5 separate regions of the Homo sapiens genome follow, and all the other regions are linked to region 1. The links are contacts of gene promoters, found by promoter capture Hi-C in blood cells and fetal thymus (Javierre and others, 2016). All regions are on one chromosome and are shown on one strand. Each heading gives the region's core, a stretch centred on a gene start or on the middle of the fragment in contact. The rest is flanking DNA. Distances are from core to core; before and after follow the strand shown. Region 1 holds the start of PLEKHG1 (pleckstrin homology and RhoGEF domain containing G1). Region 2 overlaps PLEKHG1 (pleckstrin homology and RhoGEF domain containing G1). Region 3 has its middle 61 kb from the start of IYD. Region 4 overlaps PLEKHG1 (pleckstrin homology and RhoGEF domain containing G1). Region 5 overlaps PLEKHG1 (pleckstrin homology and RhoGEF domain containing G1).

The links. Contacts are between HindIII fragments. The CHiCAGO score rates a contact against its expected background, and 5 or more counts as called.
Region 2: a contact is called between a fragment that was not itself captured here and the fragment with the promoter of PLEKHG1 in region 1, in 2 of 17 cell types (total B cells and naive B cells). The highest score is 6.1, in total B cells.
Region 3: a contact is called between a fragment that was not itself captured here and the fragment with the promoter of PLEKHG1 in region 1, in 3 of 17 cell types (total B cells, endothelial precursors and naive B cells). The highest score is 11.5, in total B cells.
Region 4: a fragment that was not itself captured here is called in contact with the fragment with the promoter of PLEKHG1 in region 1 in 3 of 17 cell types (total B cells, naive B cells and fetal thymus); the score reaches 14.4 in total B cells.
Region 5: a fragment that was not itself captured here is called in contact with the fragment with the promoter of PLEKHG1 in region 1 in 3 of 17 cell types (naive B cells, total B cells and fetal thymus); the score reaches 14.2 in naive B cells.

Annotation. Positions count from the first base shown.
Region 1 is chr6:150,598,430-150,601,337 of GRCh38, forward strand. PLEKHG1 (pleckstrin homology and RhoGEF domain containing G1) reads left to right here and starts at 1,456. Exons shown (of 17, transcript NM_001029884.3): 1 at 1,456-1,588. RefSeq lists silencers at 944-1,003, 1,184-1,478, 1,274-1,753, 1,964-2,133. The HindIII fragment of the contact is 1,307 bases long and covers 1,037-2,343 here.
Region 2 is chr6:150,782,571-150,785,478 of GRCh38, forward strand. The region is part of intron 4 of PLEKHG1 (pleckstrin homology and RhoGEF domain containing G1); the gene reads left to right. Among named protein-coding and RNA genes, the nearest start is that of MTHFD1L, 82 kb to the right of the region's middle. The HindIII fragment of the contact is 540 bases long and covers 1,170-1,709 here.
Region 3 is chr6:150,428,899-150,431,806 of GRCh38, forward strand. No RefSeq gene overlaps it. Among named protein-coding and RNA genes, the nearest start is that of IYD, 61 kb to the left of the region's middle. The HindIII fragment of the contact is 3,201 bases long and covers 1-2,908 here.
Region 4 is chr6:150,758,887-150,761,794 of GRCh38, forward strand. All of the region lies in intron 3 of PLEKHG1 (pleckstrin homology and RhoGEF domain containing G1), which reads left to right. Among named protein-coding and RNA genes, the nearest start is that of MTHFD1L, 110 kb to the right of the region's middle. The HindIII fragment of the contact is 5,411 bases long and covers 1-2,908 here.
Region 5 is chr6:150,727,358-150,730,265 of GRCh38, forward strand. The region is part of intron 2 of PLEKHG1 (pleckstrin homology and RhoGEF domain containing G1); the gene reads left to right. Among named protein-coding and RNA genes, the nearest start is that of PLEKHG1, 130 kb to the left of the region's middle. The HindIII fragment of the contact is 1,746 bases long and covers 606-2,351 here.

The DNA of each region.
Region 1 (2,908 bases), core at 206-2,705:
TGGAAACCATTAATGTGGTACTATTTCACAAACATACTGCACACTTCTAACACAAATCACAACATAGAGAGATGGGGTAACAGGCATGATTTTGTGTGAGCTCCAGAAGCTGGGCAGGGTCTTAATTAAGCTCAGTTTCCTGTCTGTGAAAGGCGACTAGCACCTGTCCTGTCAACCTCACAAGGTTATCGCAAGGCCAACTGAAACAATGCTTTGAAGATGGCAAATGTCTGTTTTAGTCCCATTGCAAATCTACCGTGGTAAATGTATTCCAAGCATAACCCAGTCCCATAGTTTTAGGTAATACAAGTCAGTTGTGGAGACTCAAATTATAAAACAGAACATAAACTCCACGTGGTAGAGAACTGTGATGCTGTGTAGCCTTACTGCACAAACCTTGTTTTGTTCCCAGTCTTTATGATAATTTCCATAATCATGTATATGCATAAAAGCAGATAAAAGGCAAAAATCAACAAGAATAGCTAACATTTATTCAGGCTGTAGAGCATGTGCCAGACAGTCTCCTAAGCCCTTCACGCACATTCTCTTATTTAAATCACATACAGCAACTCTATGAGGTAGGCACTATCATCATCATCATCATCATCATCTCCATTTTACAGATGAGGAAACAGACAGAACACAGAGAGGTTAAAGCGTTCTCTCAAGGCCACACAGCTAGCAAGTGGTAAGGCTGAAGGTCTGTTAACAACTAAGAGTGCAATCAAATCCACCACCAAACCTAAGGGGGTCCACAGGCGACCCTGATACGTCCGACTTTGGCGGGAGATTAGTGTTAAGAAATGACTTCACATGCCTTTAACTGTCGCTGCAGGCACCTTTGATTGGAGTCATAACTTTACTGCAGAGCCGGTGCCTTTAAACATCTCTCTGGCTGTCACCGGTTATTCTTTACCTCCGTTTCCACTTTTACTTTCTCTAGGCAAAGGTCGTTTGGTGCTTTAACCGAGGTGATTAGGGTAATGACGCCTGAAGAACACCGGGCTTCCCCCTCTTTTCACTTGATTACCGGCAAAGCTTCTATGTAAAACTAGAATGTTCACTAAAACCATGATTTTGGGTATTATTTTAAAGGACTCACATAGGAAATTATTACGTCCAAAGGAAAGCTAAACCTGAAGAGCTAGGAAAATGAAAAAAAGTGATGTGTCTGCGAAAACAGTAGCAGAATTAAAAAAAAAAAAAACTTTATTCCCCCCGAAGCTGTAATTTGACTGTTCTCTTTGGCAAGGCTCCAGAGACAAGGCCAAGTGCCTAATTTCTCTTTCTCTTCGCCCCCCTCCTCTCCACCTTTTTCACCCTCAGGGCAGAGGGGAGGCGGGACGAGCGATCCACTGCTCCGGCCGCCGAAGCTGGCGTCTGGGCGCGGGGAGGGGCGGGCCGGGGCGCGGCCGAGCAGTGGGGCCGAGCCCGAGGAAGAGGAAGTCGGAGCCCGAGCCTGAGCCCGAGCCCGAGCCCGACGGCGGCTGCAGGGCGCTCCGGCAGCCCGAGCCGGCGCAGCGCAGCCCGCACCCTCCCCGCCCGACCTGCGAGCGCCGCCCGGGCATGCGAAGCCGTCCCTCCCCGGGTAAGCGCCGGTCGGGCCCGGACGCCCTGGGGACTTTTCCAGGGATGGGAGGGGGGACCCGGGGACCTCCGGCGGGAGCCCCACATCCGCAGGTGGGGCCGGGCGGAGCGTGGTACCCGGGCCCCGCCGGCCCCCTGCGCGCCCCTCCGCAGTGGGGACGGAGGGCCTTGGGGGGCGCCGAGCGGTGGGGACAGAGGGCGCCGGGGGCACCGCGCGGTGGGGACGGAGGGCGCTGGGGGGCGCCGCGTCTCGGGGGTCGGAGTCGGGTCGGGGATGCTGCCCGCCGCCGCCCCGCTTGGGGTTCCGCGCCCCCAAGTTCCCGGTGCTCCCGCCCCTCGCCCCAGCGGCTGCAACATCAGCGCGCAGAGGAGTTTCTGCGAGCACCCGGGAGTTGTAGCCACCGCTTCCCCACCCCCGACTCAGCAGGACAGCCCCAGAACGGGACCCCACAGCCAGTCAGCTGGGTCAGCTCCCCAGCAGCGAAGCCGGGAGCCCGAGGACCCGGGGACGCGCGGTGGGGGCGGCGGCCGAGCTGCTGCGGCGCTCAGGGCTTGGGGGCGCCCCCGTTCTGCAGATGCGCTTTTCAGGGGGTGGGGAGTCAAGAGCCTGTGGCTCTTCCGTCACGGGGTAAACGGTAACACCTGGGCGGCCGCGACTCTGCGAGCGTTCTGGCCTCGGCGGGCGGCGGGGAACCGCAGTGATGCCCGAGCTCGCCCCTTTTGTGTCCTCGCGGTGAGCCCCGTTCCGAAGCCGGAAGCTTGGGAACGCTCTAACTGGGAGAACGGCGCTCGGCTGGTCAATTCATTCCGCTCCTCGGAAACAATGAGCTGGATCCTTGACTTGAATGTGCTGGCGGAGCGGGGTTTGTAAGCCGGCGTTTCATCCAGCTCTGGTCCTCAAGGCGCCCTTTGTACCACCCGCAGGTGGCCGAGGCTACTGCACGTATTTTCGAAATCACCGAGTGTGGGTGTTTGGGGCAGGTATCACCCCGCGAGGACCATCTCAGACTGAGAGTTGGTTTAGGAGTTTTGAACAGATTGGATACAGAACTATATTGTGTTTTGTATTTAGACCGGGGGAAAGACTAGAATGTTAACTCTAGGGTCCAGTTTGTCATCTAACAGAATTCCGGGCTTGGGTAGGTCCTGTAATGCGGTACAATAACAACCAGGTGTTAAAACCGGCATCTTCTGGATTCTCAGATTCTGTAGACAGCATACTTCTAAAAAATGTAGAGATTTTGGATTTTGATTAAATTGCTGTTAAAAACATTTCCAAGCCCATCATTTCAGGAGATCAGAAAATTTTCGAACTTTAATT
Region 2 (2,908 bases), core at 190-2,689, 180 kb after region 1:
CAGTGACATATCTGTGTGCGACTGGATTTTTTTCCTATATACTTCAACCAAAACAACAGATTGCAACAGATAGAATGCAGAAGCAGATAGGACAATCCAGCTATGTTCTATTAAGTTAGAGATTACAAATTTGCAAAAAGGGGAAATAATGCTACTCTTCTCACTAAATTTTTTAAGAGTATAAACAGGTCCTGATGCCAAAAGTTTCAGAACCACTGCCTTGGAATGAGGAACACCACACAATAAACTCCATCCCTGCGAAGAGTTCATGATTGACGTTGTGGCTCATTTTCAAATATGAAAGGACAAATGAAGATACTCAGAATTTGAGAAGAGCATCTAACATGAATGACAGAAGCTAAAATCATCAAAAAGGGAGCTCAGCAGAAAACAAAGAACAGGAAAGAAAAGTACAAAATCATTATGATCATCATCATGGCGAGTTTGGAAATAAGGGAAGATTTTGCACGCATGAAATAAGAACAAAAGCATAAGCAAGAAACATCCAAAACACATGTTTAAAAAAAAACTTTGAAATTGAAAATCTGATGGTTGAAACAAAACAAAAAAATCAATAAAAGAAATGGGGAAAAAAAACTAAAAAAAAAAAAAAAAAGGGAAATAAAGGGGAGGTCTCCCCCCACAAAAAATGGAGGAATGAAAACAGGAAGATAGAGAGTAGAAGAGGAAGAGTAAGGAAAATTAGCGTATTAGACCAGGAGATCCAATATGTGAGTAATAGGAACTTTAAAACTGCAAGGGAGGAAATATCAAAGACATAATTCACGAGCAGAGATTCTTCTTTTTTTTTTTTTTTTAACGGAGTCTCACTTTTGTCACCCAGGCTGGAGTGCAATGGTGCAATCTCGGCTCACTGCAATCTCTGCCTCCCAGGCTCAAGTGATTCTCCTGCCTCAGCCTCCTGAGTAGCTGGGACTGCAGGTGTGTGCCACCACACCCAGCTAATTTTTGAATTTTTGGTAGAGATGGGGTTTCACTGTGTTGGCCGTGCTGGTCCCGAACTCCTGACCTCAGGTCATCTGCCCACCTTGGCCTCCCAGAGTGCTGGGATTATAGGCATGAGCCACCACATCCAGCCAGGAGCAGAGATTCTCAAGTGTTTTGGTCCAGGATCTCTTACATGCTTAAAAATTACTAAGGACTGAAAAAGCTTTTTTGTTTATGTTTTATTATGTTTTGTTTGCCACATTAGAAATGAAAACCGAGAACCTGTTAAGATGTCTATTTATTTAATACTAAAAAAGAACAAGCCCACATATTTCTAGAAAAATAATTTTACTACTTTTTCTACTAAATTTTTTTGTTTGTTTTGGAGCTGTTTTACATTTTTACAGATCTTGTTACTGCCTGACTTACTAGAAGACAGCTGAATTCTCATATCTGCTTCAACTTTCCATCTGTTGTGATATCACACGTCATGTAGCCTCTGGAAAAGTTCACTGTACTCTCATGAGAGAATGAAAGTTTAAGAATTTCATAATGTCTCAGTATTTTTATGAGGTCCAACCTTGTGGACCTCCTGAAGGGGTCTTGTCTCAGGAACCCCAGAGGTCGTTAGACCACACTTGGAGAACTGCTATCCAGATCATTTCCCAAATTTGTACATTTGCTCAGTGCATGAAAAAGACCCACCCAAAGCCTACTATCACAAAATTTTGTAATTATGTCAACTAAGAGAAAACTTTAAAAGCTTTCAGAATGGGCTGGGGGTCATCAGAATGATACTGGAATCTCAATAGCAGCATTGGAATCTATAAATCACAGGTAGACAAATAGCTCCCTGAGTACTCAGAGAAAATTACTTCCAACCAAGACTTTTATATCTACTGACATCATTAGCCAAGTGCGAAGGGAGAACATTTTTGAAACAGGAAGAGTCTCAGAAAGCATACCTTCTGTTACTCTTACTCAGAAACTATTGCTCGATTTTGTAATCTCCCAAAGGAAGGAATACATTGGAAATAGCAATACAGAAGACCAGCAAAGGCTATCATTAGGATGGTGTTGAAGAAACAACCAGCAGGCCTGGACAGCAGCCTGTCCAGGTTGGAGCAGAGGTCACCAAGAAAGAAATGCAAAGCATAGAATATCTGATATTTGAACACAGTGAGACAAGATTGATACTTCTGGCATACAATTTGCTAATAAATTAATGGTCTTTATCTTGAAAAAAGAAAAAAAAAGAGAAACAATTTTAACTCCAGGGAAAACATGATTCTCTAAGAAAGGAAATGAAATCATAGTATACTCTGAGGCTAACAGGGCATAATACTTACATAGTCTTAAAGATGTAAATTCTGACATTTAATCGAATCAAATTACATAACAGAACTAGTTAAGAAGGCTGGCCACGGTTGCTCACACTACCCAGCGCTTCAGAAAGATCACTTGAGCCCAGGAAGACCTGCCTGGTTGACAGAGTGAGACCCTGTCTCTAAAATTAAAAAAAAAAAAAAGAGAGAGAGAGACATCTTAGAACTAGTTGAGAAGACAGAAGGGTAAGTTTGAGGAAACTGAGAGTAAATAATACCTAAAGTTGAAAAATAATGAAAACACATTATCAGCATGGTTAGAAGCATGGACCTTCTTAGAGCAGAAATAGCCTAAAGAATCAAAAATGCTTCTGGGCAGTGCCCATCGAGAATGAGAATCTGAAAACCAGAAACTGCTTGTTTTTATCATAATTCCTGTAGAACTACTTCACTTTTTATTAAATATATAGCATATGACTCATTAAAATAAATACTTAGCATAGTAAGGTGTATATTAGTATAACTCATGTGGAGTGCAATTTAGAAATGTGTTAACATTTACACTGAGAATGTTCTTTGACCCATCAATTCCATATGTAGAATTTTATCCAACAGTGTGAGATTCATTGAATCAA
Region 3 (2,908 bases), core at 290-2,789, 170 kb before region 1:
GTCAGTGAGCTGCTGGGGGAAGAGTTGTCAGTGCCTAACTGAGTACCACACATGTGTTTGCAAACGTCCTGATGTCAGAAGGATTTAACACTCTTTGGAATTATATTACCTTTGTGTAGAAAAACTGGTATGTGGAGTTTTGAAAATACATATATTTCTTAAAATTTCACTTCCTTTGTTGCTTTCTCCCTTAGTAGGAATCTATTCACTACTGTCTGCTATGACCCTCAAAAGTTTGGTCTGCTTAGGTGCTTCTGTGGAATACTGTCTCACTGAAGTTATTTGACAGGCGAGTAGGAGGGGCAAACAGTGTGATTTTAGCTACAAGACAAAAGTTCAGTAGATAAGGCAAACCTTTCACATTCTGAAAGTCAACATGGATGTGGGATCAGACTTAAAAAGGAAGCAGCAGCCCTGGAAATGGGGAAGGAAGCTACAGAGGAGTCACTCCACAAAGAGAAACAACTCCAAGGAGCTCTACTCTTAGAGGGGGTAGAAGCTGGAGAGGGAGGGTCCAGCGGCAGCCAACTAGAAAATAAGCTGAGGCCCTAAGTGGGCAAACATTCCCACACCTACCTCGACTCCTAGGCCAGGCTATTGCAACAGAGAGGTAGCCTAAGATGAAGAGAAAGAGCAGACCCTGCAATGTGCAAGAGGACAAGTCAATCCCCACAAGCACGTGTAAGTCAAGCCTCTGGTCATGTTGTGCCTGCTAACATCCCATTGGCCAAAGTAATTCAGATGGTCATGCTCAAAGACAGATGTGACAGCAGGTGCTCCACCCCCATCTAGCACACTGTCACATGGCAGAGGAAGAAACGAGAATGATCCAGATTGATGACAGTGCAGCCAGGAGGACAGTGTGTCCCCCGCTCAGGATTGGACTCCCCACCAGAGGCAACACTTCCCTCCCAGCTCATCCTCGCCAACTTGGCCATGAATGTGGCTGATATAAGCCCACCAGTGGGGAGGAAGTACAGGAAGGCCTTAGGCCGTGTTGCCCATCTCAGTGTGGTAGAAGCTGCAGAAGTTGCCCGCGGTGAGCTGGCGCGTGTGGTTCTGGTGGGTTCTGATGCCCAGACACAGTTCCTCTAGTTGTTAGAGCTCTGCTTGCCAAAAAGACCTATTCTACTGCTCCGATCACAGGTCTCATCCCTTGCATCTCCACCCCTGGAGGGCATCTAGGGGAGCAGCAGGACCAGGCCATGGGCCAACCTTGAGCCTGGGAGGCCAGGCTGATTATCTGGGGGCAAAATAGTGCTTCCCTAAGTCTAGCACGTGAGGAGTGAATTGTCTGCCCCACCCCAGGCCAGTGAACTCAGGTCTGGGCTTTGGCCTGGCTGCTGGGCCTAGGAGTGGAAATGGGCCTAGGAGTGAAAGGGGGGAGTTGATCCATCGAGGCTGGGTCATAGGTGGATTCTAAGGGAAAGTTTAGCCACAGAGAAGGAGCAAGTGGGTTTGAGAGACAGGAGCCTCGAACTGCTCTGGGACTCAAGAGCACTGGGCAAGAAGGTTGGCATCTGTGCCAACCCCAGGGAAGAAAAGGAAGCTGTGTGGGCACCCCACCCATTTGGATAACTACTCCATTTTGCCAATAAGAACCATGGAGCTTGTTAAGAATCAATGAAAGGGTCACTTCTGTCATGCCATTAGGATTATACCATCCGCTCATTTGAATTATTTTCTAATTAGATGACCAGCTAATCAATAATGATCCCTTAGTCAATAATGTTTGGATAAAAGGGCTTCTACTATGCGGACTGACAGTCAGGATCTAGGGTTTAAAATTTTTTTTTCCCCAATGAATTGAATGATCAGTTTACATGCACATGGCACCTTTAAATGTTTGGATTAGGCTGTGTAGAGTTAGCAGACATGCCTGCAGGATGTAACCTTGTGGAATTTCTTGCAGGAAGATGCTGCAGCGACAGCAATGACAAGAAGGCCCCTGCCAGTTAGTTGCTGAGCTGGCTGCAAGGGGGCATTGGGCTTGGGTGGGCCAAGCTAGCCCTGGGCCTCATCCCCACCTGCAAAGGAACTGCCAGCAGTGCTGTGAGTGGCCAGAAGCCAGCCCAAGCTGGGAGGTGGTGGTTCTACACAGGCCAGCCGGGTGGGTCGGCATTAATATTTGCATGATGTCATGAAGGGTCTCATTTCACCAGCACGCACTTCCTAGCCTAGAAATTCAAAAGCCTCATTCTTTGCAGCCTGGAGGAATTTTTTTTTTAACGATGTCTCGCTGTTTTTCCCAGGCTGGAGTGAAGTGGCGTGATTTCAGCTCACTGCAACCTCCACCCCCCAGGTTCAAGCGATTCTCCTGCCTCAGCCTCCCGAGTGCCTGGGATTACAGGCACATGCCATCACGCCCGGCTAATTTTTTGTACTTTTATTAGTGATGGGGGTTTCGCCATGTAGGCCGGACTGGTCTCAAATTCCTGACCTCAGGTGATCCGCCTGCCTCGGCTTTCCAAAGTGCTGGAATTACAGGTGTGAGCCACCGCACCCAGCTGAGGATTTTATTTTCCCAGTAAAAATGTAGAACCAGAAGCAGGAGGGGGGAACTACTCATACCTGCCATATACGTTCTTCAGAATATGTATCTTTCACAACTGAAAAAAAAATTAAAGAAGGAAAGATGACAATCAGGGGGTTTTACACAAGATCTCTCTGGGCAGGTTTCTCATTTTTCTCTGCCAGATGCTGCCTTCTGCGGAAGACAGATCATGGGGCAAAGGAGGGCTGAGCTCAGGGCTTCCTGCCCTGGCCCTTGGTTTCTCTCCTGCAGAATATGGGGGCTCGGCTGGATGATTTCTGAGGGCAATCCCCCGCAACCCCGACTAATAGTCTTCTATGATTTGAGGCTCTCAGCTCCTTTTTGGCACTATTTATGTATTTATGCCTTTACTTA
Region 4 (2,908 bases), core at 177-2,676, 160 kb after region 1:
AATGATTCCTAATTCTCTAGAGCTAAAACACCCTGCTTTCCAGGCTCCCCATCATGTCATGATTTCATATTACTTGAAAGTAGCATGGTGCTCAGAGAGCTGATCGAATGCGTCTGCCCTGACTCCCTGTGACTGGTTTGGGGAAGGAGTGTGTTTCTGTGGGACGAGGTATATAGAGACTTGTCCATAAAGAGGGATCAAGTGGCCCACCGTGTGGTGGCTGGCAAGAAATGGGATGTCTTAAAGGAGTGTAAAGGCATGCATTAGTGAGAAGGAAGGACGAGAACTCATGAGCCAGTCTTGAACGTGGCAGATGGTTGAAAGCTGGTGTGCTTGGCTGAAGGAAAACATGCCATGGGATGTATACATATGAAAACATGAAGGCAGTGGGTACCGCATGTGAATGGGACTGATCCTAATTCAGATATAGCCTGTGATGATCTTGGCAGGTGGGAGGTGCCTAGTCAATCAGGGTGGCTGTTTTTGGTTGGCTCCTACCTGACACCTGATAAAAATTACCTTTAACTCTCAAAATTAATCATCAGCAAACCCCTCCTCCTGTTTAAATATACTGTGTTAAGGTATAAAACCTTTGAAGTGACCCTGTAGGGTTTCAGTGCCCAGGCTATTGTCAGCAGATCCTGGTTTGAGCATGGCTTGAGGCATTTACTCTCTGTGTGACCTCAGGGGAGTGATGGAGCCTTTCTCAGCTTCCGGGAAAATGGGATGAGTGGGACCCGTCTCCTAGGGTTGCGGTGAAGATGAAATGAGAGAATGCATATAAAGCAGACAGCTCAGTGCTTAGCAATAAACTTTAAAATAACAACAATGATGATTGCCGGGTGTGGTAGCTTATGCCTATAAGCCCAGCACTTTGGGAGGCTGAGGTGGGAGGATCACTTGAGGTCAGGAGTCTCCTGGGCAACATAGTGAGACCCTATCTTTACAAAAAAATAGAAAAGTTAGCCCAGTGTGGTGGTGTGAGCCTATAACCCCAGCTACTGGGAAGGCTGAGGCGGGAGATTGCTTAAGGCAGGATTTCCAGGTTGCAGTGAGCTGTGATCAAGCCACTGCATTCTCACCTGGATGACAGAGCCAGTCTCTAAACAAAAATAAAGAAAAAAGAGAAACCAATAATGATGATAAATAGCAGTGAGGAGTTAAAATTCAGATTATGTAATAATGTACATTTATTTTACTGATTTTTTTCCCCATATTAAAAACCCTTTGGGCTTTACTTAATTTTCCTTAATCACCATGTTTCAAATTACACCAGTAGTCCTCTGATTATAATGAAGATGAATCAGTTTCTTATTTTCAGATGCGTCAAGTGTTGCCAAGACATTGCATTCCTCCACCACCTCACCAGCCATTCCCATTTTCCACTTTAAGGATTATAGCCACATTTAATTGTGTCTGTCTGCTTCCTTACCTGGCCTGGGACCTGGAGAGTAAAAAGGTAGTTTAAAAAAGAAATAAAAAGCGTGTAAAGTTAACCTGATGACAAGGAAGACAAAGTTGTAGGAAAGGAAGTCAACTGGAGGGATCATTCTCAAAGGAGTGGTTAATAAACTTGCTTCAAATTTCTATCTAGTGAATGCCCACAGCAGCCTCATACTGAGCTTTACTCCAGGGGATTCTGGTAAACACGGTGGTGGCCCGTTTTGAAGACTTTAAAATACATAGTCTTCGAAGACTTTGTATTTACATGCATTCAACAGCACATAGATTATTTCAGAAATGCTTTGCTTTTTTTTTTTTTTTTTTGGTAGCTAGAAATAATGATAGGATTTACACTATAGAAAAAACAGTAATGGGAGGTTGCAAATAGGTCTGGAAAGATATTTCAGTATGCAACAGGACTTCATCATGGCCAACTGTCTACCTCTGTCAGTTTTAGAAGCACTTTGGCATATGAGAACGTTGTCAATGTAATTTGGAAACTGCAATTTCGAAAATAAATATTTAACAAGGCAACAAAATTAAGTTTTTCTGCTACGTTATTATTGTAAAAAGGCCTCTTATAAGGACTTTTCTAATTGTTATACCGAAAGGTAATATAAGGAACTGATTTTAGTGTTATGTTTATACCAAACTGCTTTTCCATTATTATAACTTTTTTAGGTTTCAGTACATTTATACACATCCACATGAAGTCAATAAATGACATCACTGTGAAGTAAATGAAAACAATTGATTTCTTTCTTTTTTTCTTTTTTTTTTTTTTTTTTTTTTTTGAGACAAAGTCTCACTCTATTGCCCAGGCTGGAGTGCAGTGGCACAATCATGGCTCACTGCAACCTCCACCTCCTGGGTTCAAGCGATTCTCCTGCCTCGGCCTCCCAAGTAGCTGGGACTACAGGGATGCGCCACCATGCCCAGCAAATTTTTGTATGTTTAGTAGAGACGAGGTTTCACCGTGTCAGCCAGGATGGTCTCGATTACTTGACCTTGTGATCCACCCAGGCTGGAGTGCAGTGGTGCGATCTCGGCTCACTACAACCTCCACCTCCCAGGTTCAAGCGATTGTCCTGCCTCAGCCTCTCGAGTAGCTGATATTACAGGCCTGTGCCACCACACCCAGCTAATTTTTGTATTTTTGTAGAGACGGGGTTTCAGGCTGGTCTCGAACTCCTGACCTCAGGTGATCCACCTGTCTCGGCCTCCCAAAGTGCTGGGATGCAGGGGTGAGCCACCACACCTGGCCTAAGACAATTGATTTCGGTAATGATTGTCAGAAGTGTAGGAAAAGATGGGCGTCCTGTTGCTTTAAGAACTTTAACATATTAATACTAATTCTATTTCTTAATTTCTTGTTCATAGATGTGTTTTTGCTTAAAGTCTTTAAGGGAAAACCAAACAAATATTCCTAATTGTCTTCAAGCAAAGATGTATTTCTCTTTCTACT
Region 5 (2,908 bases), core at 229-2,728, 130 kb after region 1:
TTCTGCATGAAACCTAAATCAGCCTAAGAAACCAGAGCCAAGAAGCATTGCTTTTGATTCTGGCAGTGATATTCCAAAAGAGAGCAATTAAAATAATGGAAGTTGGAAGAGCAAAGAAGGAAAAGCCATGGAATTCCAATGTTTTCACCCAGAAAAAATTAGAGGGATTTGTCATGAAGTAAAAAGTATGAAAGTCTAGCTACATAGAAGCTGTCTAGGCATCTTTTCCTTTTATTAAGGATGGCACAAAAAAAAAAAGAATATTTTATTTGGTTGGCTTTTAGGCTAACCAGTGCTTTTCATTGTGCGACTCAGTAAGTCTCTAAGGTTCCTCTATGGATACTTCCACCCCCACCACCTCCAGGTTTACCAAAGGTGAGATTGATCACAATCCTCTAAGTGGGTGGAACCAGCTTATTTTAGGGTCAAAAGATATACCTGATATAAGCCATTCGCAAGGTTTGGCCAGAAATTCCCAGAAATTCTTACATTGTTGGCCCTGTGCTTGGGATTTTGGAATAGACAGAAGTTATGAGAAGAAAAGCAGCAACTTACCCAAATGCTAATACAACCTGCTAACATCTTTCACTCAAGGCAAGTGAAAAAGCTTTCTTGCCCTACAGATTTTTATCTGGATGTTTCAGTTTGTCAGGGAAAATCAGTTAGCCCAGTATCTGCTACACAGAGATGACCTCCCAACTCTATTTTTGCTAATTTTTAACAATATTGTGCATTAATAAGTGGAGTAAAAAACAAAAATGCAAACTTTGAGTTGTATGTATCTCTGCATTCACTATTATTTGAACAAAGATTGATAAAGAGGTAAATTTAAATCTTCAAGAATAATGTAATTATATCAAAGACTTCTAGATCAGCATTGTCTGACTAAAATATATATGAACTACTTATGTAATTTTTTATTTTCTAGTAGCAACAGTATAAAAAAGTAAAATGATGCCGGGGCAGTGGCTTACACCTATAATCTCAGCACTTTGGGAGGCCAAGATGGGAGGATCACTTGAGCCCAGGAGTTCAAGACCAGCCTGGGCAACATAGAAAGACTTCATCTCTAGAAAAATTAAAAATAAAATTAGCTTGGTATGGTGGCGTGGTCCCAGCTATTTGGGAGGCTGAGGTGGGAGGATGGCTTGAACCCAGGAGTGAGCCATGATTGTGCCACTGCACTCCAGCCTGGGTGACAGAGTGAGACCCTGTTTCAAAAAATAAAAATAAGAATAAATTTAAAATAAAAAAAGTAGGCCGGGCTCAGTGGCTCACACCTGTAATCCCAGCACTTTGGGAGGCCAAGGCGGGTAGATCACGAGGTCAGGAGTTCGAGACCAGCCTGGCCAACATGGTGAAACCCCATCTCTACTAAAAGTACAAAAATTAGCCAGGCATGGTGGCGGGCGCCTGTAATCCCAGCTACTCAGGAGGCTGAGGCAGGAGAATTGCTTGAACCCAGGAGGTGGAGGTTGCAGTGAGCCGAGATTGCACCATTGCACTCCAGCCTGGGCAACAAGAGCAAAACTCTGTCTCAAAAAAGAAAAAAAAGTAAAATGAAACCAGTGAAAATAATCTCAGTGAGATATTTAACCTAATCCAAAATATTATTTCAATACACAAATACAAAAATTATTAATGAGGTATTTTATTTCATGTTTTTAGTTTTATACTAAGTTACTGAAATCTGGTGTGTATCTTACATCTCAATTCAGACTGACTGTGTTTGTTTGTTTATTTATTTATTTAGGGTCAAGGTCTCACTTTGCCACCCAGGCTGCAGTGCAGTGGCACAATCATGGCTTACCACAGCCTTGACTCCAAGTAGCTGGGACTACAGGCACAGGCCGTCACACCTGGCTAATTTTTTGTATTTTTTGTATTTGAGATGGGGTTTTACTAGGTTGCCCAGGCTAGTCTCGAACTCCTGAGCTCAAGTGATCCGCCTGCCTCAGCCTCCCAAAGTGCTGGAATTACAGGCATGAGCCACTGTGCCCAGCCTGGCTGCGTTTCAAGTTCTCAGTAGCCACATGTGGCCACTGGTTACTGTGTGGAGCAACACAGCTCTAGAGATAAATGTTAATAATTGGTGAGTTGCATTAGAATAGGCCAGACAGGGTGGAAATCTTAAATTATTTTGAGGAAAGTGAGAACAAGACTAGACAGTTTTTATGAGGTGCATTTTCCTACGTGAGGAAACTATAATTATCTTCTAAGCAATGAATCAACATAAAAAATGTTAGCCATTAGCAAGTGTGGTCTCATATTACGTGCCATTATATGACCTGACTTTAAATGTTTCACTTCTGTCATTGGTAATTTTGGAAGGTCTTTAGTTTGGGGTGGTAAGCTTGGCTAAATGCTACGGACACCAAACTTCTGAAATGGTCTATTTTAGAAAATGCCTGGTTGGCAGCCAGGCCTGTACGTGGACTGGCATTGGAACATTTGAAGCTTTCCCCGCAGCGGTGCCCCCTCCATGTTGCTATTTAAGATCTATCCATGAAGGGGTCCCTATTGATCTGAGTTTTATATTCCACTCTTTCCCACCTTTGAAAGTATTTCTAAAGACATTGTCATTTCTAGCAGCCCAACCTAGGATCCTCTAAAAGCAGTTTTTATTCCTCTTTAATCCTTCTGTCCCAATATTGGGTATCTAATATAAAGTGAAAGTAAGTAGAGAAAAGAAATGATGATAAGAAAATAATGTGTCTCTCTGTTGTGTCCATTTTTCTCTAGTCCTGATCATCAATGTAGTGCCAAGAGTTTTGTAACTGTGTGAAAAACAGTTTTCTATTCTGGAGAGATAGATTCTTCTCCGGTTACAAAATCAGAACTTGCCCTAGAGACAGTATGTGCAGATCTGTAGGGGGTAGACCTTTCCAGATGTCTTGGCCTTTCAACT